Regions from separate parts of the Homo sapiens genome. Here all the other regions are linked to region 3. The links are contacts of gene promoters, found by promoter capture Hi-C in blood cells and fetal thymus (Javierre and others, 2016). All regions are on one chromosome and are shown on one strand. Each heading gives the region's core, a stretch centred on a gene start or on the middle of the fragment in contact. The rest is flanking DNA. Distances are from core to core; before and after follow the strand shown. Region 1 has its middle 14 kb from the start of RNF150. Region 2 has its middle 39 kb from the start of RNF150. Region 3 holds the start of INPP4B (inositol polyphosphate-4-phosphatase type II B). Region 4 has its middle 20 kb from the start of LINC02432. Region 5 overlaps RNF150 (ring finger protein 150). Region 6 has its middle 41 kb from the start of LINC02432. Region 7 overlaps RNF150 (ring finger protein 150).

Region 1 (3,226 bases), core at 146-2,645, 1.7 Mb before region 3:
TGAATATACATAGATCATTTCCAGTTAACAGAGTGAGTATGTAGGTGTAGGGACTTGTATATGCACATGTGTGTATTCATGTGAATAGTATAGCTGACCATTTAGCATGGAATAAGTTCTGTAGGCTCACCAATGATTTACAGCCTGTTTCTCTTGCCTTACTTGGCATGGCTACATTAAACTGAAAAATCTTTGAAATGAGGTGCCATGAAAAGAAAAAGAAAATCTCATTTTTGGATGTATAAACCAAAAAGGAATTGTATCAATTGCCCAGCCCATCTCTTTACCCAGGACAGAAGTCTCTCATGGGTCAGGGCCTACTTGGATGACTATATCTTATGGAAGATCCAATGTTCAAGTTCTACTATGGTTCAGGTTCCCCACTTTTATATCTTGTGCAGATTTTGAGGAGTCAGGTTGTGTCTCAGGGTATCATTGTGTCAGGACAGATATAGCATCAAACACGGCTGCCTCAGTGTGTGTCTGGAGTCAAGCATGTTCAGTGTCCCACTGCCTTCCACCTACTGTTCATTGCTACATAGCAAGCTTCTCATTGGTCCCTTTGCCTGTTACATTACAAGGAAGAATTTAACTTGACTGGTTAAATATTTCCGGGACTTGGGAAGAGAAAATGTGATCTAACCAACAATGAGATCTGCTACATTCTGTTACTTTGGGATGGATACATGTTTAATAAATCAGAAATAGGATCGGTTCTATTGACTAAGCTAAAGTGGTTTTAAAATTCATGTCACATTGCAGATCCAAATAATAGAGCCTTTGACCCTGTTTTCCTAGGGAGGAAAAATGTCTGCAGGAGAAACATTCCTTTTACAGATTGAAACCTTCTTCAACGTTTTTTATCCTATCTTCCAGTAAGAATATTCACAAGAGAATTATTGTTTGCTGAATTTAAGAAACATTCACTACGTCATGCAAATAACTTTAATTGCATTCTTTGGGAAAAGACAATCAGCATATGAGTATGATCCCATAACATGAGCCAACTATTCTTAAAGCATAGGTTGGGCCATCTTCTTATTTATGAAAATGGACTGCCTCCTGGGAATATTTAAGAGTAATATGCAACAACTGCTGTAATTATCAGCAATATGTCTCAGAAAAACTTGGGGAAGCCATAATTGAAGAGTTTAAAAAAAAGAAAGTTAAGGTTTGTGATGAGGTTACTGTACTCTCATCCCTTTGCCAAGTTGCCATTGAATATTAGCCAAACTTTGGAACACTCTCAGATATGAAGCCCACCAAATGACCTTGCTGGACCCATCTTGTAGGTCCTACATCCCACTCAAGGCAACTTTGTTATCTCCACTAAGAGAAGTATACAATCTGCTGGAGGTTTAAGGAATCAATCAACAATACCTTCTTTCCACTCTCAAGATTAGAGCAAGTTGAGAGATAGGACTCAAACAGATGGCAGCAATATATTAGCTTTATTACTGATAAAAGCTCTTTAGAGAATGTGACTGTGTTTTGCTTTTGTTTTTGTTTATGAGACAGTGTCTTGCTCTGTCACCCAGGCTGAAGTGCAGTGATGCGATTATGGCCACTGCAACCTCCCGTGCTCAATCGCTCCTCCCACCTCAGCATCCCGAGTAGCTGGGCCTACAGGTGTATGTCACCACACTCGGCTAATCATTGTATTATTCACAGAGACAGGATCTCACTATGTTGCCCAGCCTGGTGACTGTGTTTGTTATGATAAGTAATACTGGTTTGTCAACAAACCAACTCTAAAATTTCAGGGACTGAACAAAAGTTAATTTATTGTTCATATGTAGTCCAGTAAGGATGTTCCTGCTTGGCAGGTGGCCTTCAGCATGGCCATTCAATGGACCTTCCATAATGTGGCTCCATCCCTAGAGCTTCAAAGTCTGATGCTGAAGTTTCTACATCAGTTAATAACTGGGAAAGAGAGAGCGTGAAAGATTACACAGGAGGTTTTCATGTGGCAGATTTGGAAGAAGTGTACATAAGTTAATATTCCATTGCCTAGAACCCAGTCACATGGCCTAACCTAACTGTAAAGCAGGTTGGGAAAGTTGCAAATTTAGTGTATCTCTATGTACACAAGGCAGAGGGAATGGATTTTGGTGAAAACATAGCAGTCTTGGCCAAAATAACTGGATCTTAGCCAAGTGGGCTTGCAAATATTTCCTCCCAAACTTAGGCAGACTAATCCCTCAACAGTAACAGCTCATTCCTACAAGGGTAGACTCTGCCTCACTAAGCTTAGAGCATAGCTGAGAGAGAGAGAAACTCAGAATGCACCCTCTCTGTGGGCAGGCAGATTTCAGAGGGGAGGGGAAAAGGCTGATTGAACATTACTAATTTTTTCTTCCAATCTCATCACTGAAGGAGGAAGAAAAAATCCAAAAGTGCTACTCTAGGAAAATCATCTACTCAGAAATATGAGGCGTAGAGAATAAGTTTTCTCCCAGGAGTTGAATAAAAACTTTTAAACCAATTCATGTCATCCTTTATTCTTTAAAACCATATATTGGTTGGTAACATCCTTAAAATATTTTCTTGTGTCTTTCCTTAATTTTAGGATATATTATAATAATTGGCTTATTAAAATTATTAACAAAAGATTATTTAAATTACTAATAAAATTAGTCTTAATACAACTTTGAGACTCTCTACTTGTGTTTCTTTTGAAATACTATCTCAATAACTTTGTCAAATACAGGATGTATTTTTTGAAAATCTTTGTAAAATAAAATAATATATAGGATGATGGCTTCCTCTTATAGATTGAGCATGAGCAAAGTTAGTTCAGATCATCAGTGGTCTGTTACCCTGGACCTAGAATATAAACTATGCTTCCCTTTAAAAAGAAAACTCTCATGTAAGCATTTTATTGAATATGGTAGACTTGTGAGCAATAATTTATAACATGTTTTTATTTCTGTCAGTAACTGCCCCTGGACAACAGCTTTAGCAGGTTCTTAAAGCTTTTCACTTTTTTTTTTAGATGGAGTTTTGTTCTTGTTGCCCAGGCTGGAGTGCAATGGTGCCATCTTGGCTCACTGTAACCTCTGCCTCCCAGGTTCAAGCAATTCTGCTGCAGCCTCCCAAGTAGCTGGGACTACAGGCATGCACTACCATACCCGGCTACTTCTTTTGTATTTTCTAGAGACAGGGTTTCACCATGTTGGACAGGCTGATCTCAAACTCCTGACCTCAGGTGATCCACCTGCCTTGG
Region 2 (2,989 bases), core at 326-2,825, 1.7 Mb before region 3:
TAGTCCATAACACATATTAATGCACAGTACATCCAAGGCCTGTGCTAGAAGCTGAGAACACAAAGAGGAATACGAGATAATCTTTCTCCAAGGAAATCACAGACTTCTGGACTAGAGAAGAATGCAAAATTGTAATTGCAATGCAGTCATGTTAAGGTTATAATGAATATATACACAGTCTGTTTAGAAAGCAAGGAGAGCTTCCAACATAGGGTTGTAAAGAATGACTTGTAAAAGAAGGAGGCTTAGAAAATAAAGTTTACCTTTCCTCGCCAGCCCACACTGCATGGTCTATGTTCCCAGTCAGTAGCAGAATCAGGACTGGACCCTAGATCTTCTCATGCTTCCCTGAGAACTTTCCACTAACAGCCACACCTCTTGGGAGAGATTATCCTTCTTTACGGTGGTCTATGTGAGTATCGGACCCAATAGGGGATTCTCTTTATTTGTAAGTTATATAAAACACATTTTCTCTGCGTGTGTGTGTGCACACACCCATGTGTGGATGCATCTATGAGAGACAGACAGAAAGAGAGAGAGAGAGAGAGAGAGAGAGAGAGAGAAAGTGGGGATTCTTACTACTTACTAGTGAGTGAGCACAGAATGGGGGAACTGAATCCATTACCTCAGTTAGTCTTAGTTTCCTCTGAGGGATGCTTAAAGACATTCTCTAGGCACAGGGATGAATGCTACTTTTGAGCTCCCACTTCACTTTCAATTGAATGTACTACAATGTATCCATAGCCCAAATTATACACAATTTGTATATAGATACATGTGCATGTACATATAGCACAACTGAACTGAATTGAGCTTGACTAGTTGACATAGGTTTTATTTTGTAGATGTTTAATTAAATGGTGTTAAGTTCCTCCCTTCCCATATTTTGGAGCCAATGATTTTCTTCAGATTTCAGATACATCCCAAAGCCCCCTTGAAGAACTTGTCACCAGTGAGCATCGTGCCTGTCATACCTAGGTGCTTCTTCTCATGTGAGCGTCTAGTCATGCTTAGAGTAAGTTAAAAATACTTATACTTTTATATGCTCTTTTATAATACCGCATATCATATACATTTGTACCTATACATAAGATCAATGTTTTCATTAGCTATTGCCACAATAATGCTCTCTAGAAAAGCACCACAAAATTTCAGCAGCACACAGCAATAGGGTTTTATTTTTCCCTCATGAGTTTGCTGGTTAGCTGGTGCTTCTCTGCTTTAGACTGTGGGGCAGCTCGGTGGCTCTGCTCAGTGTACTTCTCTGTCTTCTGGGACCGTGAGCTAGCTGGGGCATTTGCTTCTCAGGACGCTGGCAGAGGTGCAAGAGGGCAAACAGAACTTATGAGATCTCTTACCACCTAAGCTTGGAACTGCCAGAGTCCCTTTTCTCTACATGTCATTAGCCAAAGGAAGGCGCACAGCTAAACCCAAAGTCAAAAGGCAGGGCAGTGCGCTCTTCACAGCGAGACTCTGGCAAGAGCATGAATGTGGATGGGGTGAAAAATTGGGATCAATAATTTATCTACTAAGTTACCCCCCTTCCCTATACACACATTTGCCATGCTTAATAAATGATTTAAAATATTTTTGAGATATCGTGGACTTAGCAGTTGACCTGAAAACCTGTACCCTGTACGAGATATGACTCAGCTGTACCCATACCAGCTGGTGAGCCGTGTGCCCATGATACCAAGTCACCTAGCTGAACTTCCAGAGTTGGAGATTTTTTCTCTAGGCCTTAAATAACAACACTCACTTGAGCATTAATTACACTTGGTTCAAAAGCTTAATTTATGAAAACTAGGATATTGCCGGGCACTGTGGCTCATGCCTGTAATCCCAGCACTTTGGAAGGCCGAGGTGGGCAGATCACCTGAGGTCAGGAGTTCAAGACCAGCCTGGCCAACATAGTGAAACCCCATCTCTACTAAAAATACAAAAAATTAGCCGGGCATGGTGGTGGGCACCTGTGATCCCAGCTACTAGGGAGCCTGAGGCAGGAGAATCGCTTGAACCCGGGAGGCCGAGGGTGCAGTGAGCCAAGATCGCGGCATTGCACTTCAGCCTGGGCAACAAGAGTGAAACTCCGTCTTAAAAAAAGAAAAAAAAAAAGAAAACTAGGATATTAATCTTACTTTAAAGCAAAGTGCTACTGAAGACATGGTTTTCAAGAGAGACGCTACCTCCATTGCCTTGAGGGATTCCAGTGACTATTTCATTTGTATTAGACATCAGGTGTTTTGTCTGTAGTGAGTCAGCCATATTTATAAGGCTTTCTCTTATATTATTAGTTAATCCTTGATGCCTTGATCAATTATCACCTGTTACATTCAGAACAGTAGCTTATATACTCACTTTATAGTGGGTGTCTTTTATAAAGTTTTGATTATGCATTTATTTTCATTATACATACACTGTATGTTTGTTGCAAAAGTTAGAAAACAGACATAAGTAAAAGAGAGATGAGCATTGTGTACTTCACTAACATTATTTCAAACATTCCCCACAACAACGCTGAAAGGTAGAGATTTTTTGGTCCATTTGACAGAAGATGAAATTGAGGAACAGTGAGATCAAGGAGTTCACCTAAGTTGACATAATTGGTAAATGGCTGTCAGGATCTTCTGGCTCTATTGCCAGTGCCTAAGTTTCAATTTGCCCTCTTGCACCTCTGCCAGCATCACAAGAAGCAAATGTCCCAGCTAGCTCATGGCCCCAGGAGAAGACTGAGTACATTGAGCAGAGCCAGCCAACTGCCCTACAGTTGGTTAAATAGTGTTTTTACACTTTGGACAAGCCCTTTACTTGGAACTCCAAGGTGTCTTTATTTCTATCAATTTTAAATGAACACAAATAATAAATGTATTTTCAGTATAAAAATTTAAACAATTTAGAAATATTTCAAGTAAAAAGTGAAAGTTCTTCCTCAAAACTTCTATGTCTCATTCAACTTTTCTTCTCAGAAGCAACTGTTGTTATCAATTTG
Region 3 (3,299 bases), core at 668-3,167:
GCCTATCTTCACACACACATTTCATAACCTTTCAAGGACAATCTTCTACATCACATTTTAAGGAAATACACTGAAAAAGCAATCCATTTTGCAATAGCATTTTACATTACTACAAATTCACGAGGTTCAACCTTCAATGCCCATGTACCTTTCACAAAACTATTGATCATTTCCTATCAATGCTTTACAGGATTATATCACAAAGGAACACATAATGCATGTATGTGCATCAATGCGTAAAGGAGAGGATGCATTTCTGTGCATAGTATGTGAACTGACAATGCCCACTTGCCCAGTCCTTGCTTTACTCAACTTCTTACACATCATCAGCCAGCTGCCCTGTTGATGATTCCTTGCACCTTATGCGCTGCTTTATCATTGAGTCAGATTACTACCATTTCTGGTCCAGAACTCATTAAGAAAAGTCCTTTTTCAAGCAAGGTCTTTGAAATGTAGTTGTACACCTATAAAAGAACTATCTGGAGCTCATCTTGAGAGAGAGAAGATGAATTTATCCTCTGTCTTTAGGCTTTTACTTACAGAGCCACACCTTTATAAACAAGTTCTGTCTGTCATACTGACAGGAAGGAGATATGCAAAATGTAACATCTGGAGTCATAAAATATAATGACCTCAAATAACATTCCAGAAAGAGAAAGGAAAACTAGTTCTGGTTAGGGAGAAGATAAAAGAGGAAAAGGAGTAAATTTACATCCTTAAAACAAGAGTAATAGAAAACCCTACCGGGTTTTTCCAGTAAGTTTTGTGCAGCAGCAGCAACAACCTAATCAATATGTGCTTCCTCACCCTCTTGTCCCCAAAGAGAAACTGCTGGGCCCCTCTCCACCGACTCCCCAGGAGCAGAAACTACTGCCCCCAAGGAAGGGAGAATTCAGAAGCGTGGGGAGGGGGAAAAACAGGTATATGTGGTTCTAGCATCCTCATCTTCATATCAGCTACCAGCCTGAAACTACATTCAGGAACCAGGCTCCCAGACATTCCCCGGCCCTGGGCCCTGCCTGAGCGCCAGAGAGCTTGAGGAGCCTGCAGCATAGTTCTCAGACCCGAAACAATGACCTCCCCCGTCCAAACCCAGGCACTCTTGCGCCAAGGCCCTAACCTCTCAGCGAGACCTCTTTGGGGAAGGACAAGAGATGCTGCCTGATGGCCGAGAGAAGACATGCCAGGCTTCTCTGCCAGAATGAGTTGTTGAGGGTGGGATGAAGGTGGTCAAGGAGATGGGCTCTTTATTTTTAAAACAAAAAACAAGGCAACCGGGACCACCAACATCAGTCACCCTCACTCCCCACCACTGCCTCTATTCCTTAAGGACTTCTTCCCAGGCCGGCGGCGGCGGCGGCGGCGGCGGCGGCAGCTTGCGATCATCAGGATTGGAAGTGAGAGCGAGTGCCCGGGCCAACCTCAGCGTCTCTCAGGGACAGCGCAGGTGGGCGCAGCCTTGGAAGGTCAGCGAGGCCAGAGCTCAGAGTTCCACGGGGGCCCGGAGAGTGTGCGTGTGTGAGTGAGAATGCGAAAACGCGCGCGCGCCGGGCAGAGGGGCGCTCGGCGAGAGGGTAGGCGCGGTGACAGGGGTACCCCAGCAGCCGAGGAGAGACAGCCCACCCCACCCTTTAAGCTAAAGAGCTGGAGGGGTGATGGAGGCTGCAAGACGGAGAAACTTGATGCAAAACAGACAGGCTCCCCCCTCCAAGACGTGCCGCCACGCTCTCAGACACGCTCCCTCGCCTCCCGGATTACCCACCATCAACCACCCCACCCTGCAAAATTCCCCCACCGAGCCCTAGGATCCCAGGCGGGTAATTACCTCTCCCGGAGGCGGAGTGGGGGGCGGCAGCAGCAGCAGACACTTTTAGCCTGACTTTCCTGCGTTCGCTTGCGAGCGTGTGAGCGTGTGCGCGCCCAGGAGGAGCTGTAACCTGCTATTTATAGACCGAAGCCTCAGTACCCGGGGCTGAGAACCCGGAGGAAACTAGCAGGCGGCGGCGACGGCGCAGGGCGCCGGCCGCGGCTTCGCGAGGCTCCAGCAGCTCCCCCAGCCTCTGGCTTCGGCCGCGCTCCCTGCTCGCTCCTCGCCTACCAGCCCCGCGCGCGCCCCAGAGAAGTTGTCACCAGCGCGGCTGGCTCTCCGGCTGCTCACACGCCCCCTGGCACAATTGCTACTTTCTTCCACCCCAACCCCCACCCTCCCCGCTCCTCTTCCTCCTCCTCTGCTCTCTCCAAGCGGTCTCCTCCCAATGTCACCAGCGACCGAGTAGAGGCGGCCGTGGCAGCGACAGTCGCGCAACTGGCGCTGCTCGCTTCCCGCTACTGATAGAGCGGAGATGGTGGCCCGGCTGCCCACCCCGAAATTACCACGCTGGCTCCGTGTGCTCACACCCCGTACCCCGACCCCTTTCTGCGGCCCCTCTGCCCGCTGGGTCGCCCACCCAGACTGGGCTGTGGGATCACCGCTACCGCGACGAGGGGGGACCCGAGGCCGCCACGCTGCTGCGGGGGCAGGAGAAACCACAGAGAAAGAACCCGCGGGAGGAAGAAAGCGCCCCAGACCCCGGCCTATGGCAGCGCAGTCCCTAGACCGAGGGTTTTTGGAAGGGGCTTGGGATCCCTGCTGTCACTGCCTGCGTCTAGGCATCCATTCACGCCTGCTGGACCCCAGTCTGCAGCCGCGCTGGGACCCCTGTCTCTTGCCCCTCCTCCCCCTTGCCCCGGGCAGAGGTCGGGCTGAGGAGACCAGCTTAGAGCAGCCCTCGGCCACCCACCGCCAGTTCCCACGTCGCGGCGGGTGACTGAGGCCGAGATGCTCCCAACTAGCGTATGACATGCCTTTGATATCCCGGGTGCGTGGGGACAAATCCGCCCTGAATGTGTTGGGGTATCAGGAAAACGGGGTATGTAAGCAAGCAGTCTGGACGGAGACTAAAACTCCCCCACTTCCTAGCCCCTAACAAGCCCACAGGGGAAAGCACGCACCCTGGTTATTCCGGGCTGTGTAGGGTGTGGGGCAAATGACTCTCCCCATCTGCGCTTTACAGGTGCCACCTGGCGGCTCTCTCGGAAAGGTTTTGATGGAGCCGTTCAAAGGTAAAGGTGCCCAGAGCCAGCCCATCAAGACACCCCAGCCCTTCTCCCTGAGGGCGCTTTAAAATCACATTTTAAGTAAAGCAGTGTACGAATGCTTGTACACAAGTGTTACATTTGCCATGCAAAAAGACTGGAATCTCAAAGTCAGGACAGTGAAATCAATTTGGGTTAAGTCGGGGCTTAACAGTTTCACAAAC
Region 4 (2,953 bases), core at 44-2,543, 1.5 Mb before region 3:
CATTGGTGAGGGAATCTATGCAGTCTACTGATTCACATGCTAATCTCTTCTAGAAACATTCTCACGGACAAACCTGGAAATAATATCTTACCAGCCACCTGGACATCCCTCAGCCCAGGCAAGTTGATACATAAATTAACCATCACACTGAGCTTCAGTAGCATCACAGAGAGTTTTAATTGGATTTAGCTCTCTTCCTCCATTACCAGAAAGAAGTACCTTGGAGAAAATGGCAGTTTGGCAGAAGTAGCAAGAACCGCACTTGTGATGTATTTTTTTTTTTCATACAAACTTTCTCTCTAATGGTACTTATTAATTTCCAAAAGCCAAATATTTGTGGTCTGACTGCATCAGAATCACTTTGGGGACCTGTTAAAAATACTGATTCCCTAGTCCAATCCCAGAACTCTGGTGCCAGCCTTTCTGGCAGTGAAGCCTGAGGAGTGATGCTCCCACGTGGCTCTGATGGCCAGCCGCCTTAGGGCAGCACTGGCAAATGCTGGCTGATGATGAAACCTTAGACTAAGAAGAAATCTGGTGGTGGGGAGAGTACATTCTTAATTAGGGAAGAAACTACTGGCTGTTAAAAGGTGATATTAGTGACTTTGTCTTTGCAGATCAAACTGCCTATGGTGCCATCTGAAAGATTCCTCCATGAATATTTAGGAGGCACTGGGAGGGTTTCCTGTATTTTTAGTGGGGTGGTGGGGAAGGGGTCACATGGTGAATTTTCACAGCAGTTTTCTTAATCTGATTGTATGTTGAAATGATTTGTTATGGAAATAGGAAAGAGGAAGTACTGTAGTCTCTCACGTGGACTCAACCATATTTTTTTAAAGTAAGATTTTCCTTTTTGTAGAGATGGTTCTTGCTTTGCTGCCCAGGCTGGTCTCGAACTCTTGGCCTCAAGCAGTTTTTCTGCCTCAGCCTCCCAAAGTGGCAAGAAACACTGTGCCAAAGCCTGAGCCATCTTGTGGGACATGGACTCCTGTCTTTCAAGAGTCTTTCATCATCTTTCATGAGCTCCTTTCATGTCCTTCATGAGTCTTTCACCATCTTTCCCCTCAGTGTAGTACAAGGAAAGAGGAACAAGCTTAGCAGCCAGTGATGAAATAAAATCCTGCTGCTGCCACCCGCTAGCTGTGTGACTTTAGCCATGTTCCATAACCTCCCTGAGCATTCATGAATTCACTGGTCAAGCAGGGTTAACTTCTCACTGGTTTTGTGAGAATTAAGTGAGTTAACATACTTAAATATGAACTTAACCAATACTGATTCCCTTGTATAAATCTGTGTCCCTTGTTCCTGGGACAGAACAGGTGCTCCATAAAAGATAGGCAGAGATAGATGAAAGAATGGGTGGTCAGTAACTTGTACAGGACCTCACATCTGTAAGACATGCTAAACTATTTCTGAAAATGGTCTCAGACAAAGTTGTTTTTACCAGAAGTCATCTCAGGCAGTATTTTATGTTTTTGGAAGAAGTTCCTTCATAAGCTTCCTGGAATGGGAGTGGAGTAAGTGAGGGTGTGAATTGCTAGGACTACGAATCCTTTCCTGCCTACACAGTCCCAGTTGATACCTGTTGTAATAGCACCCCCTTTGACACTAGAAAGTATCCCAGGTTGGATACTTAATCACATGGTCATCATATGTAAGGGTCATGCTGAAATAACATTAAGTGGTCACTGAACCATCTTTGGGGAAGAGGGTTTCCTGCAGAGTGCTGGTGGTCCTGAACCAGTGTGTGAGCTTGGTGCTGGCGCAGATTTGTTTGGGTAGTTGAGGAGAAGCTGAGTATTGCCTCTAGCAACTTTCCCCACTGAGTGCTCAGTCCTCCTAAATACACCCTGAACAAAATAGTAGTTTTAAGGAGCACTAACAGACCCACAGTTCAGGCTAGCCCAGATGGGGCTACAACTATTTGCTACCTCAATAATTAGGTGGTAGAGTTATTTATCAGAAAGAGAAATGGGCTAAGCACCAGGGAGTCCAAACTTTAGGCTTCACGGTTATTTAAGCTGTGTCTGATTTACTTTTGTCAGTCGCATTTAGCTGCTGTCATTGCATGTGCTTCTGAGAGGCTGCAGCCAGCCCTGGGTGATGTCCCATGGAACTTTCCTGGGAGTTACAGTGAATAAATTTTGAGACACCTTAACAGCTCCTGGGGCTGCTCTACTCCTTTCTGTATTTCAAGAATTTTCCAAATAATTGGGCTGTTGGGTAAGTGTGGTCTAGTTTCATTGGCGAGGTGTGGCAATGGTTTAACACTGCACCGTGTTCTGCTGGAAAAGTGGGACATAGACCTGTGGCCTCTCCTTTCTCTATCTGTGCTCACTCCCTGGATAATCTCTTCTGATCTCAAGAATTTCATGCCACCTCCATATAGCTGACTCCCAAATGTATACCCTCAGGATGGAACTATTCCCAGAATCACAGGTTTGTATATATAGCGGTGTATTTGATATTTCTTCACAGATGGCTAATAGACATTTCAAACTTATTATGTCCAAAATTAAACTCAATGTTACCCCAAACCTCAAGTTTTTTCCATCTCATTCCCTGGGAATTCCATTCTCCCAGTTGTTCAGGCAAAAAAATCTTAGAGTCATCTTTGAATTCTCTCTTTCACTCGTACTACATTTAACATGTTAGCAAATCTTATCCATTTTACCTTTGAAATCTGTCCACAATTCAACAACTTTCAGTTATCTTCACTGCTTCTACTTTGGTCTAAGCCACCCTCAGGCATTGTCAAGATTATTTCAGGAGTCTCCCAGTTGATCTTTTTGCTTTCACCCTTGGTCCTCTCACAGTCGGCTGCAGCCAGAAAGATCCTGTTAAATGTAATTCACATAATGTCCCTACTCTTTTTTTCTAAAATCCTCCAGTGGTTCACAGGGACTGAACTGTTCTCTCTCCTACTTCCTCCATCCCAACTCTCTAAGATCAT
Region 5 (3,262 bases), core at 586-3,085, 2.0 Mb before region 3:
CATTACCCTGCTTCTCCAAGCCTGTCACTTCACTAAGGATAACAGACCACAGATATTCTGCCAAGCAATGACTTTGGGTAATTGAGATTAAGCGACCTTCTCTAAGGATTTTTCTCCCTCACTGTGTTCAGACATTGCAGACCTCTTAATAGACGTGTATATTTTTGTCTTATCATCAGCAAATATTTATCAGGTGGCCACAGAGCAAATGGCTCTGTATTAAGTGCAAACGTCAGTGGTAGCACAGAATTAGAAGATCTTTGATCACTGAAATTCCTGAAAAAGCCACGTGATTATGAAGCACTCAAGGCAGGTGAAGAGAGATGTGACTGACCTTAGCAGGTTCTTGTAGAACAAGCAGGATTGCAATCAAATTGCTCGATATTAAGGGGCCACGTCTAGCATCTGGACTTGCTTCATTAGTTCTGGGATGATAACTTGGTGTCAATAAAAGGTGTAGAGTGGAAGAGTGTGGCTATTGATCTGTGGGTCTTTAAAAATTAATGTTCCTATTACACAGGGTCTGGGGTTGAGTGAGGACAAAAGGAGGGAAAAGGAAGAGCTAAGGGATGATGAGAAACTCATATTAGCTTCTTAGAATTAATTTATTTTTCAGGCAATCCAGACCTTCTTTGCAATCATGAGTATTTTAACTCATGAGTATTTAATTCCTTAAAAATACAAACTCCCCAAAACCCAGGTCAGCTCTAAACCTAGGGATGAGCATTTACTTGGGGACAGCACGCACATTTTGTTAAGCACAGAAGCTTTCCAGCCCTGCTTTGACCAGCTCCCTGATCAGAGATCCTGCCATCCTCTTTTCTTACTTCCTGCAGGGTGACACTCCCATCCCATTTTAACTGCCAACATCAAACGTATTCATCCATGCAATGGCATGGATGAAGGACCTCGGTGGCCAAGAGCACTGCATGAAGAACCATGCATCCCCATCTTAAGAGGGTAGTCTCTTCGTGTCTCTTTGTCAGTCTTCAGGAATTAGTGGCCCTCAGATCACTTACGATGAGCAAGCACTTGTGCTAAGTAGTTAGGAAGAATGGGCATTCCATCAGGTACAGTATACAAGTTTTTCCAAGAAATCCTAACCCTGGGGGCTCAGGCGAATGAGGAGGGTCAAATGCTGAGGGTGGGAGAAAGCAGATCTAGACAGCATTCTGGAATTGTTGCTTTGCCATTATTTGCCCAGAAAACATTTATGGCAAGGAAGCCTGAAAACATGGCAATGGTTGTAAGATGGGTTGCGATACAACTGGTGATGTGAGAAGTGAAAATGAAACTGACTCCTTTAGGGAGGACATTGGTTTATAGTAAACAGGTTTGCCTCATCAGAAGTGAATATGGATATTGCTACACAATAAAAAGAGGAAAAACACCAACAACAGTAACAATGGTAATCACAATAATGATAATGACTCTGTAGGTATAGAACCTCCAGTTTTTTGTGTTCTGAAGGTTATTTCAGAGTTTCTTGCAAGAGAGAAAACAAATCAGAAAAAAAGGGGAAGAGAGAAGATGGGAAAATAATTTATGTATGGGTATACAAAGTAAGATATAGGCAGTCAGAGAAAAACAGATACAGACAGAAAAGGAAAAGAAACTTAGAGAAGATATAAAAATGCTACTGGAAATTGCCTCTGTGGCCTTAGTACCAGAAAAGACTGGGCTCTCGCTCCACAGAGGGAGTGACTCCATAGCCCAGATTTTTTGAAAAGTTTTGATTTAAGGATTTTTTTTTAAGTCAGGGTGATACATTCAATGGATAACTAAATGTCATTTAATTTTTTATGCTCTGCAAAAATATCCATCTAAACAAAACTCATAAATAAGAAAGAATCCTATGTTAGATCACTGGCATTGATTTGGTTTTGAGAGTATGGTAGCCTCAGGGATGTCAGGGCAGTAACTGAAATGGCCACTGGGCATGGTGAGCTTTGAAATGACCAAACCCAGATCTATGAATTTCCAGGATATTTCACCAGGATGAAGGAAATGTTAAAAACAAGAAAACAAAACAAAACAAAACAAAATGAACATTTTTGGACAGAGCTTTGCCTCCATGATTCTGATCATTACCATGTGATGTCAAAAATGGGTAGGTACCTTTGCCGCTTTTAATTTTCTGCCTTCTCCAGACTCTACCTCTCCCTGTGTAGATGACCAGAGTTGACACTGCAGGGGATATCTAACCCTAGAGATTAAGTCAATGTTCAAAAGCTGTATTCATAGTCAGGGCTCAGCTCTTCCAAAGGGACTAGCCACATAGGAGGTAGCAGTTCCTAAAGGTGACCCTAAATTATTTTGAGTGAATGCAAATGCTCCTTTTCTTCCCCATAGCATTGGGGTGGCAGGTGGATGCTGACTTGGAGTAAAATGCTGGCTGTTGGAGGTGGTCATAATTCACCAAGTAGAGACCGGATGATCACAGGCCCCCAAAGATTCTTTTTCAAGAAGGCCACATAAAGTCTTGCATTTCTCATTCTTTCCTCCCAAGTTCGTGAGTTTTCACTACAGCTGTGGGACTGGGGGACACTGGGAAAGGACTTTCACCAACCATGAACAAGAAGAAGGGGTTGAGGTAAAGTTGGGTGATTTCAGTCTGGAGTTCTCTTTGGCTCCTAAGTGCCACATATCAGTCCGAGGGTTTGCCATAGAAGTGAGGGGTATAATTTTGTTTCAGCACCAAATCAGCATGGTTTGTGTGAGTTTTAAGTAACAACTGGTCAGAGGAGTAACAACAAATGGTCATGGACATCAATGATATGGTTAGAAAGTTCAAGCAGAAATTTTAAAAAGGGTGCCTGAATCTTTATTCACTACAAAATAAATGGACCTCTGGGCCTCTCATTAGGCGACTTGGGTGGTGTCCAGTTCTCCCTGGAGGTAATTAAGCTTTTAACCTTCTTTTCTTTTGTAAGGGTCGGGGGATCTTGTGAGAATACTGGAGGAACTCTAGACCTGCATTGTCCAATTGGCAGCCACTAGCCACATGTGACTATCCAAATTGAGAGGTGCTGTGAGTGTAAAAGACACAATGGATTTAGAAGACTTAGTACACAAAAGCATGTAAAACATGTCATTAATTTACATTAGTGACATGTTGAAACAATATTAGGTTAAAGTACATGATTAAAATTATCTTTACCTGTTTCTTTTTACACTTTAAAATGTGGCTAGTAGAAAATTTAAAATTATGTCTGTGACTTGCATTACGTTTCTGTTGGACAGTGCTAGTCTAGACTCTTGC
Region 6 (3,427 bases), core at 440-2,939, 1.6 Mb before region 3:
ACTTCTGTCATTTTATTTATTGATTCCTGGTTGTTTTGTATATCCCTTGTTCTTTTTGTTCTCTGTTATTGTTTATCATTGTCATTTAGTGGTTTTCTATAGTGGTAACATTTAAGTCCCTTCACATCCTCATTTGTATGTTTGCTCTACCAGTGGGCTTTATACAGTCATGTGTTTTCATTATGGTAGATATTGTCCTTTTGCTTTCACATGTAGAACTCCCTTCAGCATTTCTTATAGGGCCAATCTAGTGGTTGTGAATTACCTTAGCTTTTGTTCGTCTGGAAAATATTTTATTTCTCTTTCATTTATGAAGGACATTGCTGCTGGCAGTTTTTTCTTTTAGCACTTAGAATACATCATCCAATTTTCTCTGGCTTGTAAGGTTTCTGATGAAAAATATACTGCTTGTCTGATTGGAGTTCCCTTAAATGTGACTAGATGCTTTTTTTCTTGTTTTTAGAATTCTTTCTTTGTCTTTGACTTATAACAATTTGACTATAATGTGCTATGGAGAAGACATTTTTGAATTGTATCTGTTTGGAGATTTATGAGCTTCCTGTACCTGGATGTCTACATCTCTTGCTAGATTTGGAAAGTTTTCAGATATTGTTTAATTAAATAGGTGTCTATCTCTTTCATTTTTTCTTTGCCTCCTGGAACACTGATAATTCAAATATTTCATCACTTTATTGTGTATCATATGTCATGCAGACTTTGTTCATTCTTTTTATTCATTTTTCTTTATTTGTGTCTGGGTTATTTCCAAAGACTTGTCTTCAAGTTCTAAAATTCTTCCTTCTGTGTAATCCAGTCTATTGCTGAAGCTTTCAAATATATTTTGCATTTATTTAGTGAATTAATTAGTTCTCAGATTTCTTTTTTTAATGGCATCTATTATTTTGGTAAATTTCTCAATTGTATCCTGAATTATTTTTTCTGATTTCTTTGTATTGTTTATCTAAATTGTTTTGTATGTCATTGAACTTCTTTAATATACTTATTTTTAATTCTTCATTCAGGATTTCATAATTTTAAAAATTGGAATCTGTTGCTGGAAAATTATTGTGTTCCTTTGGAAATGTCATATTTCTTTGCTTATTAATTTTTTTGTGTGTCCTTAAGTTGATATCTGCACATCTGTTGTAAAGTCAATTTTTCCAGGTTTTTGAATTTGCTTTCATAGGGGAGGACTTTTTCCTTAAGATATATCTATGATGTTTTGGATAGGGCACTTTGGCCTTAATTCTGGGGGCATGCAGTAGTGTAGTCTTTGTATAATTTTTTAACCCACAGACAGCTTCGGTAGTGTCCATGACTTCCTCGGTAGCTTAGAGTGAAGTTTTTAGTGGAGGCTGTTTTGAAGTTTTTCTGGGGATGGGGATGTGGCAGTTGTGGACTGAAGTTGTACTGAGTGGTGAACTGGGCCCCAGAGTGACATATACTGGCATTGGTATTAGCAGGTCTGGGGAGGCCAATTCTTAGGTCTCCAGGCAGCTTGCTCATGTGCTGGCAATGGCCGCAGTGAGCCAGGTGGGTGGGCGGGTTTTTGGGCCCCTGGGCAGCAGGCATGGTGCGGTCAATGGCTGTGGCACTGGCAAGATAATATATTGGCTTCCAAGTGGTCTGTGCTGGTGTTGGCAGTGGCTGCAGTGGTCTGATTATCAATGTAGTCATTCTTTAGTTCACTTTAATAAACGAGTATAATTTTACCTATCAAAATTTGTTCAAAATAAATATCTCTTATTTGTTTTATCTGCTTTGACATTAAGGATAAAATACTCTTAACCATCTTTTATGTAATGATTAATTCCACTAATATTAATTTACTTAACTGCTCCATCCATATTTCCATGAGAATTTATATTCCATAATTCCACATAAGTTTATTTGTAAAGAAATGATTAGGACAAAGTCAGTGTAGGTTGGGGAATATGTAGCTTGACATCTAGAAGGAAATTTTGATTCATTTGGTTTTCCATGGTGTGGAAGATGTTTGGGTTGCTCTCCAGTGTTTCAGGTTTTACTCTTTTTAGGCACACAGTGTTGGGGGATATTGGTGGGAAAGGGATTGTATTTCCACTCTTTCTTGAAGATTGACGTGATACCGTGACTCAATTTAGCCAACAAAATGTGAGTAGAAGTGACAAACAATGCTTTGGTGCGGAAGTACTTACTATCCACATGAGACTGCCCAGCACACTCCTTTGCTGTGGTGACCTCGGGAGCACTATTACAAGGATAGTGCCATGTAATCAATGCAGCTAATCGAAGCAGAGCCCATACCTTCAGGACAGACATTTTCAGGGGGTATGAAGGACTTTGGGTGACTGAGAAACAACAGTTTTTTTGCACTAAATCTCTGATATTATGGTGGTGTTTTTTGTTACTACAGCATAAACCAACCAGTTCTGACAGATATCCATGCATACCACTTTTGTTTCTAATTACGTTGTACTTTAACAGGCAGTCACTCTGTTTTGCCTTCCACACATGTTTTTGACTGCACTGCCTTTTGGTAATTAACTCTCTTTTTTTTTCTAAGCACTGTGAAGCTTTGGCACCTTTCCCCTTTTTCACTTGCGCCATCTCAGATGAAATGCACTGGACATAATGTCTGGGTTCTAATCTACTTGTCCTGGCTCCAAAAAGATAATTTTTTGAAGCATAAGGAGGACATTTTTCCATTTGTTTGATTTTATGGGTGAACACAGTACACCATAGAAGGAGTGAATGGGATCCCAACTGCACAGCAGAAAAGGACTTTGTAGCTGCTATAAAAATTGAAAACCGGCCGGGCGCAGTGGCTCACGCCTGTAATCCCAGCACTTTGGGAGGCCTAAACGGGCGGATCACGAGGTCAGGAGATCGAGACCATCATGGCTAACACGGTGAAACCCCGCCTCTATTAAAAATACAAAAAATTTAGCCGGGCATAGTGGCGGGCGCCTGTAGTCCCAGCTACTCGGGAGGCTGAGACAGGAGAATGGCGTGAACCCGGGAGGTGGAGCTTGCAGTGAGCCGAGATCGCGCCATTGCACTCCAGCCTGGGCGACAGCGAGACTCCGTCTCAAAAACAAACAAACAAACAAAAAAAACCCAATAAACATTAGTAAATATTATGTGTGTCCAATTTTGATAAATAATGACTGAAGATTTGACATTGTCTCTACTCTAGAAATCCCTGTTCTTGAAAAAATGCAGTGAATGAAGCAGTTTTTGTTTTGATGTGGACACTTCCTTGAAATTCTCTCTCTCTCAGGGCTTATTTTACGCCATTATAACCCTTGTACTAATGTGGCCCCTGAAAGAAGAAATTCAAGGCGCTTTATGGAGGAAGAGGGGGCATGGTGGTTCATTTGATGTAAACATTTATCAGGTTTTTGGAAATCTTAGTCTGGCATTCCCCAGTTAAAGAAAAGATGAT
Region 7 (3,182 bases), core at 573-3,072, 1.7 Mb before region 3:
GCATAGGTAGACTTCAGCAATCAAAGTAACGGCCATAAAGGTAGCATGAATCCATACATTGAACTCTGAGCACCCACCTATGGAGGAAGAGCCTCAGTAGATCTACTACATTTTGCCTCCAACCTTGGAGAAGTCTAGAATACACAGATATACTCCATCCTAGGCTCCTCCTTTCCAAGGGCCTAGCATGTTCTCCAGAGTTACTGCAACCATTTCTTCCCTTCCTCCATCTCCAAGTTGCCCTTAGGGACCTAGCCTCACAAAAGTTCTTCCTAGACAGCTAGATGTTTCATTTCCTGTTGATTATGTACTAGCAATAGACAAACAGAAAGATATCAAACACACTCTTTAAAAAAGAAAAAAATAAAACATACCATTTCCTCAACATCACAACTCAGTCACAAACAGCCTGCATACACAGACTACCACGTTTATCATACATGCCCTTGCTACGATGAGATTTCAATTTAAGCCAAAAGAAAGTACAAACTCAATAGGAGAATCTTAAATGTTCATCAATCAAAGGGAACTGGAACACCCTGTTTCAATTAGCTGAGCCACAAACAAATTGGCACCACTGCTCTGGCCTCTTCAGTATGAAAGGGTAAATAAGGAGTTCTTTCCCAAGGCTGCCAGGAACTCAGTGAGCCTCAGAGGTATGATGATCCAGTGTGTAGCTCCTGCATGTCGTTGTGTGTCACTGGGTCCAATGCTTAGAAGGGCTAACATTTTTTGACTGCTTTGTGCCAGCTACAGATTTAAACACTGTACATGCATTAATCCATCTAATTCACATAACAAGCAATCGAGGTATGGTGTTATCCTCCACTTCACAAAGGAGGAAACCCAAGACCTGGGAGGTTAACTTGCACAAAGATACACAGTGAGAAAGTAGTGCCACCAGGACACAAATCCAAGTGGTTGGCTCTAGAGGCTACACTCCTATTTAATTAGTGCCCTAAACTGCCTCTAGAAATTTCTGATATCATCATTTTCCTTAGGGTACACCGAAAGAAGCTTCACAGGCAGGCATCAGACCAGCTTTGAGGAGGTAATTTGAGTCTCACTGCCTTTGCCTATAACTGAAAGTTCACTTCTGGGGCTTTTACTACTTGGAAGATGCATTTCTCTATAGCTTTTTGCTATGGCCTTCTTGGTGCTCTTGCACTAAAGATACAGCCTTATGTCCCTTAATAGGGGACATATAAATCTCTGGTCCATAGACTTAAAAAAAAAGTGAGAGAAGCAGATTCTCTCTATTAATCACTCTCTCTTCCCTAGCATAAAAGTGTATGAGTTGAAAGTCTGGAAAAGAATAAATAATGGTGGGTGTAAGGTGAAAGGGAATAAAATGAATAGCAGAAAAAAACAAGACTATGTTAAAAAGTAACAGTTAGTCATCAGGGAAATGAAAATTTAAAACAAAATGAAGATGCCACTTCACATCCACTTGAATGGGCAAAATAAAAAAGATAGTAACAAATGTTGATGAGGCTGTGGAGAAATTGGAACCCTCAAACACTGCTGGTGAGAATGCAAAATGATGCAGTTGTTTTGGAAAACAGTCTAGAAGGTCCTCAAAAGATTAAATCATAGAGTTGCCATATGACTCAGAAGTTCCACTCCTAGGTATATAATCAAGAGAAATGTCCATACAAAAACTTGTACATGAATGTTCATAGCACTATTTTTCATAACAATTAAAAGGTAGAAACAACGTAATTTTCCATCAGTTGATGAATAAATACACAAAATGTGATATATCCATACAACGAAATATTATTTGGCAATAAAAAGGGTTTAAGTACTGACGCATGCTACAACCTTGATGAACCTTAGAAAGATTATGCTAAATCAAAGAGGCCAATCACAGAAGTCCACATATTATATGATTCCATTTATATGAAAGGTACAAAAGAGGCATTTAAATACATGAAGACAGAATGTAGATTAGCCTAGGGCTGGGAGTTGGGGAATAATGGGGAGTGACTAGGAGTTGGGGAATATTGGGGAAGTACAAGAGTTTCTTATTAGAACTAGATAGTGATGATGGCTGCACAACTCAGTCAATACACTAAAAGCCATTGAAATGCATACTTTAAATGAGTGAACTGCAGAGTATGTTTATATTTCAGTAAAGCTGTTATACTGGGGAGGAAAGTGACTTGTTATAAAGCAAAACTACTGGTCTATCCCAGGAGAAGTGGTGTCTTTTTGAATGAGAAGTTATAGTTACATAAGTGGCAGAAAATCAAAATTATTTAAGCAGGAAAAGAAAAAAACAGAAAACGTATATGAAAAGGACAAAACAATTTCTATTTAATTGAATTTCAAGATACACAAATGCATAGATGTTAAACGACAGGTTGCATAACACTAAATACAGACCTTCTCACCTGAAATCTATCAGTTCCAAAAATAAAGCATCTAAGGAAAGGTGATAGATATATCATCAGCTTTTGCAGTTTTTAAAACTTTTTAAAAACTGAATTTAAAAGTTCACAAATATGCAGATTTTCTGGTATGGTATCCCAAGTTCACAAAATAAAAATATTTGATTAGCATCTAAAATGTGCAGTTTCTCAAACTGAATTCAGAAATCTGACCTCAAATTTAACTAGGAAAAGTAAAGCTTTCAAGATCTGGACTACATGGAAGACACTGACAGCCAGACAAGAGCTGGCAGTGTTTGAGATTTAGGCAGAAGAATTTCAGAGTATAGTCAAGGGTTTACCATGCTACCCTGTCATGTATCTGCTCATAATGACACTCTAGCAGAAATCAATGCTAGCCTCTGACTGAAGTGAACAGAGTCTCCTAATGTGGCAAAATGTCAGAAGATAATATGGAGTTTCCTGGCCATTGGCAGATACAGCATGAATACATTTTTGGAAACAGAACAATTAGATAATAGACAATTTCCAATTTTTTTTTTCCTTTAACGTTCAAACTACAGTATTACTAAACTTCCACTCCCACTATCTTAATCAAGCATCATTTGTGTGGGAAATCTGCTTAGTGTTTTCTTTAAAAATAAGCAAGCCATTAATTGATCCAATGTGTTGGCAGTTCTAGAGAACCTTTTTAGACAGGAACAAATGATGCCTCTTACTTTATGTTCAAAGAAGTTGAGTTCAAGATTTCATGCATATGCACAGAGAAACAAAGAATCTCACAAAGTC

The links. Contacts are between HindIII fragments. The CHiCAGO score rates a contact against its expected background, and 5 or more counts as called.
Region 1: a fragment that was not itself captured here is called in contact with the fragment with the promoter of INPP4B in region 3 in 4 of 17 cell types (monocytes, M1 macrophages, M0 macrophages and 1 more); the score reaches 11.0 in monocytes.
Region 2: a contact is called between a fragment that was not itself captured here and the fragment with the promoter of INPP4B in region 3, in 1 of 17 cell types (M0 macrophages). The highest score is 5.6, in M0 macrophages.
Region 4: a fragment that was not itself captured here is called in contact with the fragment with the promoter of INPP4B in region 3 in 10 of 17 cell types (total CD4 T cells, naive CD4 T cells, non-activated CD4 T cells and 7 more); the score reaches 37.8 in total CD4 T cells.
Region 5: a fragment that was not itself captured here is called in contact with the fragment with the promoter of INPP4B in region 3 in 7 of 17 cell types (naive CD8 T cells, non-activated CD4 T cells, naive CD4 T cells and 4 more); the score reaches 20.4 in naive CD8 T cells.
Region 6: a fragment that was not itself captured here is called in contact with the fragment with the promoter of INPP4B in region 3 in 7 of 17 cell types (naive CD4 T cells, naive CD8 T cells, total CD8 T cells and 4 more); the score reaches 14.1 in naive CD4 T cells.
Region 7: a fragment that was not itself captured here is called in contact with the fragment with the promoter of INPP4B in region 3 in 2 of 17 cell types (monocytes and M2 macrophages); the score reaches 5.9 in monocytes.

Annotation. Positions count from the first base shown.
Region 1 is chr4:141,145,469-141,148,694 of GRCh38, forward strand. It overlaps a transcript of RNF150 not described here. Among named protein-coding and RNA genes, the nearest start is that of RNF150, 14 kb to the left of the region's middle. The HindIII fragment of the contact is 1,703 bases long and covers 545-2,247 here.
Region 2 is chr4:141,170,931-141,173,919 of GRCh38, forward strand. It overlaps a transcript of RNF150 not described here. Among named protein-coding and RNA genes, the nearest start is that of RNF150, 39 kb to the left of the region's middle. The HindIII fragment of the contact is 422 bases long and covers 1,365-1,786 here.
Region 3 is chr4:142,844,384-142,847,682 of GRCh38, forward strand. INPP4B (inositol polyphosphate-4-phosphatase type II B) reads right to left here and starts at 1,918. Exons shown (of 26, transcript NM_001101669.3): 1 at 1,826-1,918. The region is part of intron 3 of USP38-DT (USP38 divergent transcript); the gene reads right to left. RefSeq lists an enhancer at 2,675-3,261. The HindIII fragment of the contact is 4,051 bases long and covers 1-3,299 here.
Region 4 is chr4:141,310,946-141,313,898 of GRCh38, forward strand. No RefSeq gene overlaps it. Among named protein-coding and RNA genes, the nearest start is that of LINC02432, 20 kb to the right of the region's middle. The HindIII fragment of the contact is 404 bases long and covers 1,092-1,495 here.
Region 5 is chr4:140,862,093-140,865,354 of GRCh38, forward strand. It overlaps RNF150 (ring finger protein 150), which reads right to left. Exons shown (of 7, transcript NM_020724.2): 7 at 1-3,262. Among named protein-coding and RNA genes, the nearest start is that of TBC1D9, 110 kb to the left of the region's middle. The HindIII fragment of the contact is 2,140 bases long and covers 766-2,905 here.
Region 6 is chr4:141,290,177-141,293,603 of GRCh38, forward strand. No RefSeq gene overlaps it. Among named protein-coding and RNA genes, the nearest start is that of LINC02432, 41 kb to the right of the region's middle. The HindIII fragment of the contact is 1,728 bases long and covers 826-2,553 here.
Region 7 is chr4:141,127,490-141,130,671 of GRCh38, forward strand. All of the region lies in intron 1 of RNF150 (ring finger protein 150), which reads right to left. Among named protein-coding and RNA genes, the nearest start is that of RNF150, 4.4 kb to the right of the region's middle. The HindIII fragment of the contact is 1,615 bases long and covers 1,016-2,630 here.